Linked DNA regions of Homo sapiens: region 2 is linked to region 1. The links are contacts of gene promoters, found by promoter capture Hi-C in blood cells and fetal thymus (Javierre and others, 2016). All regions are on one chromosome and are shown on one strand. The core of a region is centred on a gene start or on the middle of the fragment in contact, and the rest is flanking DNA. Distances in the headings are between cores, read along the strand shown.

Region 1 (4,432 bases), core at 749-3,248:
GCTGGTCTCGAACTCCTAGCCTCAAGTGATCCACCCACCTCGGCCTCCCAAACTACTGGGATTACAGGTGTGAGCCACCGTGCCTGACCAGAATGTGTGACTTTAATAATAAAAAAGCGAACGAAAAATATATGACCAAGAAAAGATTCAGCACTCAATCCTGAATAAGTCCATTCATTCAAGAGGGCAGTTTCTAAAAGGAGCAAGCAACCAACATCCCTCCCTGTGATCTACAACAGGAGTCATTGATTCAAATGTCTGGAGGAGCCAGGCAAGTGCTGTAAACGAGTGACCAGGTGGGGACCAGCTTAGAAGAGGAAGGCATTGGTGGAGGGGCAGTCCCATTCAGCTCCAGCCTATTGTTCTGTTGTGGGAATGTGTGCCTAGATCTTTTGCTGCTGCTTCTTTTTTTTTTTTTTTGGGTAAAAAAACGGAAGTCTGGATTTCTTTTCTTCTTCTTCTTCTTCTTTTTTTTTTTTTTTGTAGAGACAGAGTCTTGCTCTGTCGCCCCGGCTGGAATGCAATGGCGTGATCTCTGCTCACTGCAACCTCTGCCTCCTGGGTTCAAGCAATTCTCCTGCCTCAGCCTCCCGAGTAGCTGGGACTACAGGTGTCCGCCACCACGCCGTTAATTTCTTTTGTATTTTAGTAGAGACGGGGTTTCACCGTGTTGCCCAGGCTGGTCTGAAACTCCTGAGCTCAGGTAATCTGCTCGCCTCTGCCTCCCAAAGTGCTAGGATTACAGGCCTCAGCCACTGAGCTCAGCCGGAAGTCTGGATTTCTGATGTGAATGTACATATTCCGACTTTGTGTGTGTGTGTGTGTGTGTGTGTGTGTGTGTGTGTGTGTGTGACAGAGTCTCGCTCTGTCGCCCAGGCTGGAGTGCAGTGACGCGATTTCGGCTCACTGCAAGCTCTGCCTCCTGGGTTCAAGCCATTCTCCTGGCTCAGCCTCCCGAGTAGCTGGGACTACAGACACCTGCCACCACGCCCGGCTAATTTTTTGTATTTTTTAGTAGAGACGGGGTTTCACCGTGCTAGCCAGGATGGTCTCGATCTCCCGATCTCGTGATCCGCCGGCCTCAGCCTCCCAAAGTGCTGGGATTACAGGCGTGAGCCACCACGCCCAGCCTCTATATTCTGACTTTAAAATACTGGTAGTTAAGCCATTTATTAGAATATTGGCAGGTAAAACAGAGCTCTATTCAGCTGCAGGCCACCAGTTTTCGACCTCTGATTCACAGCTTTCCTGGGCCTTCCATGGACGTTACTTGCTGTACCAGGCACTGCGCTCTTTTGCATAGGGATGAGTTCCAGTCATCACTGGGGTCCCAGGCCAGGATCTGTGTCTGTTCCTCTTGCTTCAACCCGACTAGGCCTGAGGAGTTGAGGGTAGTGGAGGCCCTCAAATAATTGGGAATTCTGAGTCTCCAAAGGCGCGAAGCTGGGGCGCCTGACGGCAGGCACGGCTTAAAGGCTTGCCCAGGGCCACCCGGGGAGGACAAGGGTTGGAATGCAGGACTCCGCCTTCAATTCAGAGCTCCTTTCTCCAGGACTAGAAAAGGTTATTCCAGAGACGGGACTTGCGGCCAGAAGCCCAAGACGTCCTAGTCTTCGCGAATCCGCCCCATTAGAGCGACCGACAAAAACTACAAATTCCAGCATGCCCCGAGTCGCGGACGGCCCTCGCGCTCCCGCCGGCTCCAACCATCCCTCTGCTCCTCATTGGCTCGCAAGCCTAACGTGCTGTTCCGTGACTGGTTACAGCTCTTGTCGCTCGAAAGAACCCATTGCTGGGGCTGGCCGGCGTGTGCCTTGGAGCCTCTAAGGAGATGAAACTGCACTCAACCAGGATGAGAGGCTGCCCGGCCAATGCAGCTGCCGCCCCGTCTGCTGCGGAGGCTTTGCTTTTTGACTCCCTGGCGACAGTAAAGTTGAAGAGCTTCCGGCCGGAGGCCAATAGATGGGACCCCCGGAAGGCGGAAGTTCTAGGGCGGAAGTGGCCGAGAGGAGAGGAGAATGGCGGCGGAAGGCTGGATTTGGCGTTGGGGCTGGGGCCGGCGGTGCCTGGGAAGGCCTGGGCTTCTCGGCCCCGGCCCTGGCCCCACTACACCTCTCTTTCTTCTTTTGTTGTTGGGGTCTGTGACTGCGGATATAACTGACGGCAACAGTGAACATCTCAAGCGGGAGCATTCGCTCATTAAGCCCTACCAAGGTGAAGCCCTTGGGGCGGGAATGAGTGAAGAGTGAGGGCGAGGCTGAACAGGGCTAGGGGAAGGCGTGCCCTTTCTCCTGAGCAGAGCATCTCTGTGGGTTTCCTGCCTCTGGTGAGGCCAGTCCTGGCGTGGCCTCTTAGCACCTGTCTCTTCCCACAGGGGTCGGTTCCAGCTCTATGCCCCTCTGGGACTTCCAGGGCAGCACTATGCTCACGAGCCAGTACGTACGTCTGACCCCTGACGAGCGCAGCAAAGAGGGCTCTATCTGGAACCACCAGGTGAGTGGTTCTCAAGAGGATAGGCGTACTGTGCGGTTGGCTGCTAGTCCCTGCCTCCCGAGCAGCTGAGACCCCAGCTTCGTTTATAGGTTTGCACCTCCGTCCCTGGCCTTTTCCTCATCTCGGTCACACCCACCAATAATAAGAGGCGATGGGTATTGGGTACTTACTATGTGTCAGGAGCTGCGCTTGACACTTTACATCCTCCTCACTTTAAAAGCCATGCGAGATGAGTAATGTTATCTCCATTTTACCCACTGAGAAGCTAAGACTCAGGTTTGAAAGGGCCTTACCCAAAGTTACATAGCCAGAAAGTAGTGGAACTGTCAGGCTGTCTGCCTTGAACCCCCTCAGTAATGGGAAGAACCGAGCGAACTGGATCTTTATTGGGTGTTTTGCTGTGTATTAGGCACTGACCTTGCCATGCCTTATTGCATTTAATTTTCAAACAAGCTGTTTGAAATAGATGGCTTTCATGACTATACAAAGATAACCCAGCTAGCAAATGTCATAAACAGTATTTAAACTCTGATTTGTCTGATCTCTAAGCCCAGCAGTTCACTCGATGTACTTGACTCTTTTCACCTGGACAGTGGAGGAACCCCTTAGAACCCTTTTTGCAATGCTTGGTTGAGGGTCTTGTCATCAGTAGTGTGGAGGGACTGGACCTGTGGGCAGTTCTAGTGTCTGTGACCTTTGCCTCAGAGTATGTAGTATGTAGTATGTGAGCAGTGGCCAATGACAGCTGCTACACAGAATCCACACTGAGGCAGTCAAGGTGAGGAAAAAGGGGAAAGAAGAATAATTTGGGGCTGGGTTACAGCTTGGAGCGGGACCTGCTCCTGCCCCAGCTTGCCTAATCTCAGCCCTTCCCATGGCTTAAGCTGTTGGCCAGTGTTCTAGTTTTCTCCATCACCCTGCTCTCTGATCCCTGCTGGTTGACTTTCTTGTTTAGTTCTGGGAACCCACACTGTCCTTGTGTTGCCTGGTCTGCCCGTCCCCTCTGCTCCTCCTCTCCTTCCTGCCCCGAGCCTCCACACTGCTGTTAGTGGCATCTGCGGATACTTTCTTCAGCTTTCAGTCTGATCCTCAGAGCGTGGAGTCCCCTGTGAAGGGGTAAGCATGCATTATGTCTGCACAATCTGGCCCCTTGTGCATCTCCAGTCATTCTCTGTGTTAATTTTGTTCCAGCCCCCCCTGGCTGCCTTCTTGCCTCAGGACCTTTGCACCTGTTGTTCCCTCTGTCTGGGACACTGCCTCCTGGCTCCTCATGCCTGCTTGGTTCCTTCTCATCTGTTAAGTCTCAATTCAAGTGCCACCCACGCAGACATTTCTTCATTAACCACCCTATCTCCCCCGAGTCACATTCTGTCACATTCTGTCTTAGGGCTTTCAGATATTTTAAAGAAATGATAATTCAGCCTTATATTTTTCATGGAAATGAGTTCAGTATAGCATTATTATTATTTTTTGAAAGCAAGGTGCAAACAGTGCTGGAACTGTAGAAATCAGGAGTAGCCACAAGTAATAGACGCATCTAAGACAGTGGCTTACATTTTGGTTGTAGATAGCTGATGGTTGGCATCATCAGTGGCTCGAGGATGTCACAGGACTGAGAGGCTTCTGCACTTGCCTTCATCGAATTTTCAGTCTGGAGTACAATTGTTTTGCCTTCCTTCCTCCACCTTTCTATTTGGCTCTGCTGATATTCCTGAAACATTTGGAGTGCTTCCTGTAAACTCTGGAAAGAAATGGCTTGGAAATCAGAATTTTCTGTTCAGTGTTTCCCAAGAACTGCCTCTTCCTTTAATGAGCTGGAGAGATGCTTCCTAAACTTTTCCCTTTTTTATCTCCTTCATTCACTCCATCCGGGAGAGGCATGCACTCAGGCGAACATTCCCTGAACACCTGCTGTCTTCTGAGCAGCCATAAAATAGCT
Region 2 (4,480 bases), core at 868-3,367, 110 kb before region 1:
ATTTTCCTGCCTCAGCCTCCCAAGTAGCTGGGATTACAGGCGCCCACCACCACGCCTGGCTAATTTTTGTATTTTTAGTAGAGATGGGGTTTCACCATGTTGGCCAAGCTGATCTTGAACTCCTGACCTCAGGTGATCCACCCGCCGGCCTCACAAAGTGCCGGGATTACAGGCATGAGCCACCGCACCCAGCAGATAAAGTTTATTATTTATTTATTTATTTATTTATTTATTTATTTATTTATTTATTGTCTTTTTAGTAGAGATGGGGTTTCACCATGTTGGCCAGGATGGTCTCGATCTCTTAACCTCATGATCTGCCCTCCTCGGCCTCCCAAAGTGCTGGAATTACAGGTGTGAGCCACCTCACCCAGCCAAGTTTATTTATTTATTTATTTTTATTTTTTTGAGACAGAGTCTTGCTCTGTCGCCCAGGCTGGAGTGCAATGGCACAATCTCAGCTCACTGCAACCTCTGCCTCCTGGGTTCAAGCGATTCTCTTGCCTCAGCCTCCTGAGTAGCTGGGATTACAGGCGTGCACCACCATGCCCAGCTAATTTTTGTATTTTTAGTAGAGACAGGGTTTCACCGTGTTGGTCAGGCTGGTCTCGAACTCCTGACCTCGTGATCCACCTGTCTCGGCCTCCCAAAGTCCTGGAATTACAGGCGTGAGCCACCGCACCCTGCCTGATAAAGTTTATTTATTTATTTATTTATTTTTATTTATTTATCTTTTTTAAGATGAAGTCTCACTCTTGTCCCCCAGGCTAGAGTGCAATGGCGCCATCTCAGCTCACTGCAACCTCTGCCTCCTGGGTTCAAGCGATTCTCCTGCCTCAGCCTCCCAAGTAGCTGGGATTACAGGTGCACGGCTCCATGCCCGGCTAATGTTTGTATTTTTAGTAGAGACAGGGTTTCACCATGTTGGCCAGGCTGGTCTCAAACTCCTGACCTCAGGTGATCCTCCCACCTCGGCCTCCCAAAGTGCACTGCACCCAGCCCTGATAAAGTTTATTTTTTTGCTAACATTTCAAACATACACACATGCAGGTAGACAGAATAGTGTTGTGAACCCCCTGAGCTGATTTATTTTCACCAGTTATCAACATTTCAGGTAAAGTCTGAAGGAGCTTACCATTATTTTATAGTCCCATCTGGCCCTTCAAGTATAGTTCACGTGAGAGTGACAGTGGACATTCTAGCAGGTCAGTGTGGTACCCTTTCAATTTCAGGTCCTCTAAGGAAGGGAATATGCGAGAGACTTTGGGATTTAGCACTGTGAAATGCTTTCTCTTGGCTTAAGGAGCTGTTGCTTTCTCTCCCCTGTTACGAATTGTGTTCCATATCTGAGTTCCCTTTTTGCCTGGCCTGCAGGGGAGCTCCCGTGTATCTGAAAATGCTTTAGGCACAGCAGTGGCTTTGACCCATGTGGTTAGTGCGTTGATCTCTCTCCTCCCTCTGGGCCTTACTTGTTTCAGTGTTCACATGGTTGGTAGTTTATTAAAGCCTTTGTGGAGGGCTGGGCTCAGTGGCTCATGCCTGTAATCCCAGCACTTTGGGAGGCCAAGGCAGGCGGATCATGAGGTCAGGAGATCGAGACCATCCTGGCTAACATGGTGAAACCCCGTCTCTACTAAAAAATACAAGAAATTAGCCGAGCGTGGTGGCGGGCGCCTGTAGTCCCAGCTACTCGGGAGGCTGAGGCAGGAGAATGGCGTGAACCCGGGAGGCGGAGCTTGCAGTGAGCCGAGATCTCGCCACTGCACTCCAGCCTGAGTGAAAGACTCTGTCTCAGATTAAAAAAAAAAAAGCCTTTGTGGTAGTTGCCTCTGGTCCTTTCTTTGAACAAGGCAGAGGAACCAACTGAGATTACAGCAGGCAGTGGGCAGAGCAGCAAAGGCTGGTGGGACACAGGCTCATGGGAAGGTGAAGAGCCTAGGCTGACTGGAACCCCGTGGGCTGAGGAGTGGGGGAGATTTGATTGGGAAAGGAGAGCAAGGGCAGAGGAGGAGTTTAGACTTCATTCTGGGGGTCACAAAGTTATCACTGAGGTGATAGCCCTCCTGAGGTGGGATACTACGAAGGGCCCTTCTCCCAGTGCTCCTGACATAAGCTAAAATTTTAGATTATAGGCTCAAAAACAGAGCAGCCCTGGGACTTCACCACCTTAGCAGCCCCTCCTGCCCAAGCTGCCACCTGAGCAGCAGGGGACACCGACTAAGAAGCCTTTGGTGTGTGAGTGCAGTTGAGCAAACATGCGCCCGCCTTGTGCTGGCCACCCACCCGGAGACCCCGGTCCTCATCCTGCGTTGCTCACAGCGGAGGGGGGAGGTGCCTCCGGAAACAGGAACTTAGGATGTGGTGTCATCGTGGTGGAAGCCAGGAGCACCCTGTGGGGACCCAGAGGAGGAAATGACCTGAACAAGCCTCTTGTTCAGAGGTCCTTCCCCAGGAAGCAGTGGCCACGCTGCAGCTGGAAACCAGAGGGCCTGGCCCCCGGGTGGGGAGCAGGCATTTGGGAGGGAGGCCAGTCTCCCATGCTGAGGCTTGGAGGTGGGAACGGGTGTGCCTGTTCTGGGAACTGACTGCGTCGTGCTGAGGACTTGATGTCTACATCTCACAGTATGTGGGAGCCTTGGGGTGGGGGCCGGCAGGGGGTGGTGTTGGAGAGGTGACGGCTAGGTCAGGCAGGGGTGGGGGACGTAGGCCAAGTGCGGGCGCTGCCCACCCAAAACAACGTGTGCAGTGGGCAGGTGAAGCCAGTAGGCGATGGTGGGGCCGGGGGTGAGCGGGTGGCACACGCCTGTCTTAAGGGGGCTGCGGCGAGGCCCCGGTGATGGCTGCTCCGGGCTTGCAGGTGATGTCGCCAGGGCTCTGTCACCTCAAGAGAAACTGGGACCCTCATCTCAGTATGAAAGTTCCTGGTTTTTAAGTGGTGGTAACTAATGAACATGGTTTAAAAATATCATACCAGCAAAACAAAAGCCATCTGTGGGTCATATTTAGCCAGTGCTTGCTGTGGCTCATGGGAACCCCTGAGGGATTTTAAGCTCAGGAAAATCATGGTCTGATCCGCATTTTGGAAAGGTCCTTTCAGGGCCTATGGAGAGCAAATAAGGCAGGTAGCAGTGAGGAAGGCTGGACCATGATGCCACGGTCCAGGCAGCAACATTGGGAGCATGGTGGCCCCGGCACTAGGGTAGGAGGTCCAAGAAGTTATCTGCAAAACAAGGAGCACTTCTGGAGGGCCCTAGGCACCTGCTTAGATATGGGGATGAGCAAGTGAGTGAGTGAGCCTGGTGCCCAGAGGCCTGGCAGGTCAGAGATGAGGTGGCTGAGGGCCCTGAGGGAAGAGAGGGGCTGTGTGACAGGGTTTGACGGGGCAGAGGTACCACCTCTGAAACCCTTCCTGCCAGATTGCGAAAGAAGCATGGGGGCTGTAAGAAGGCCAGAAGGGGCCGGGCGCGGTGGCTCACGCCTGTAATCCCAGCACTTTGGGAGGCCGAGGCGGGCGGATCACGAGGTCAGGAGATCGAGACCATCCCGGCTAAAACGGTGAAACCCTGTCTCTACTAAAAATACAAAAAATTAGCCGGGCGTAGTGGCGGGCGCCTGTAGTCCCAGCTACTTGGGAGGCTGAGGCAGGAGAATGGCGTGAACCCGGGAGGCGGAGCTTGCAGTGAGCCGAGATCCCGCCACTGCACTCCAGCCTGGGCGACAGAGCGAGACTCCGTCTCAAAAAAAAAAAAAAAAAAAAAAGAAGGCCAGAAGGCCGGGCACTGGTGGCTCATGACTGTAATCCATCCCAACACTTTGGGAGGCCAAGGCAGGAGGATCCCTTCAGCCCAGAAGTTTGAGACCAGCCTGGGCAACATAGGGAGACCCCATCTCTACCAAAAAATTAAAATTAGCCGGGCATGGTGGTGCACACCTGTAGTCCCAGCTACTCGGGAGGCTGAGGTGGGAGGATTGCTTGAGCCCAGGAGGCAGAGGCTGCAGTGAGCCGTGATTGTACCACTGCTCCCCAGCCTGGGTGGTAGGGCGAGAACCTGTCTTAAAAACAAAATCAATAAATAAAATACAGTAAAAAAGAAGGCCAAAAGCCCCTGTGGGGGGTAGGTGCACCAGACACTGTCCCTTTGGTTTCTAGGGTGACCATCGGGATGAGGAGGAAGAGACCCACATGAAGAAGTCAGAGTCGGAGGTGGAGGTGAGAGCTGGGGGCACCAGCCAGGTGAGGCAGACAGGGCTATCTCAGCTTGCCTGGCCCAGCCCCAACCTTTTCCTCGTGCCCTCAGGAGGCAGCAGCTATTATTGCCCAGCGGCCTGACAACCCAAGGGAGTTCTTCAAGCAGCAGGAAAGAGTCGCATCGGCCTCTGCGGGCAGCTGTGATGTACCCTCGCCCTTCAACCATCGACCAGGTAGTCCTAGGCCCCACCCCCCGTCCGGCCCCACTCCTCAGGTTGCGGCCCTGAGCCT

Evidence for each region. Contacts are between HindIII fragments. The CHiCAGO score rates a contact against its expected background, and 5 or more counts as called.
Region 2: a contact is called between a fragment that was not itself captured here and the fragment with the promoter of LMAN2 in region 1, in 6 of 17 cell types (activated CD4 T cells, non-activated CD4 T cells, total CD8 T cells and 3 more). The highest score is 9.7, in activated CD4 T cells.

What each region holds. Positions count from the first base shown.
Region 1 is chr5:177,349,234-177,353,665 of GRCh38, reverse strand. LMAN2 (lectin, mannose binding 2) reads left to right here and starts at 1,998. Exons shown (of 8, transcript NM_006816.3): 1 at 1,998-2,214; 2 at 2,375-2,493. The coding sequence starts at 2,019. RefSeq lists enhancers at 1,808-1,857, 1,868-2,057 and a silencer at 1,699-1,913. The HindIII fragment of the contact is 10,936 bases long and covers 1-4,432 here.
Region 2 is chr5:177,460,374-177,464,853 of GRCh38, reverse strand. It overlaps DBN1 (drebrin 1), which reads left to right. Exons shown (of 15, transcript NM_001363541.2): 9 at 4,151-4,210; 10 at 4,299-4,422. Among named protein-coding and RNA genes, the nearest start is that of DBN1, 11 kb to the left of the region's middle. The HindIII fragment of the contact is 7,642 bases long and covers 1-4,480 here.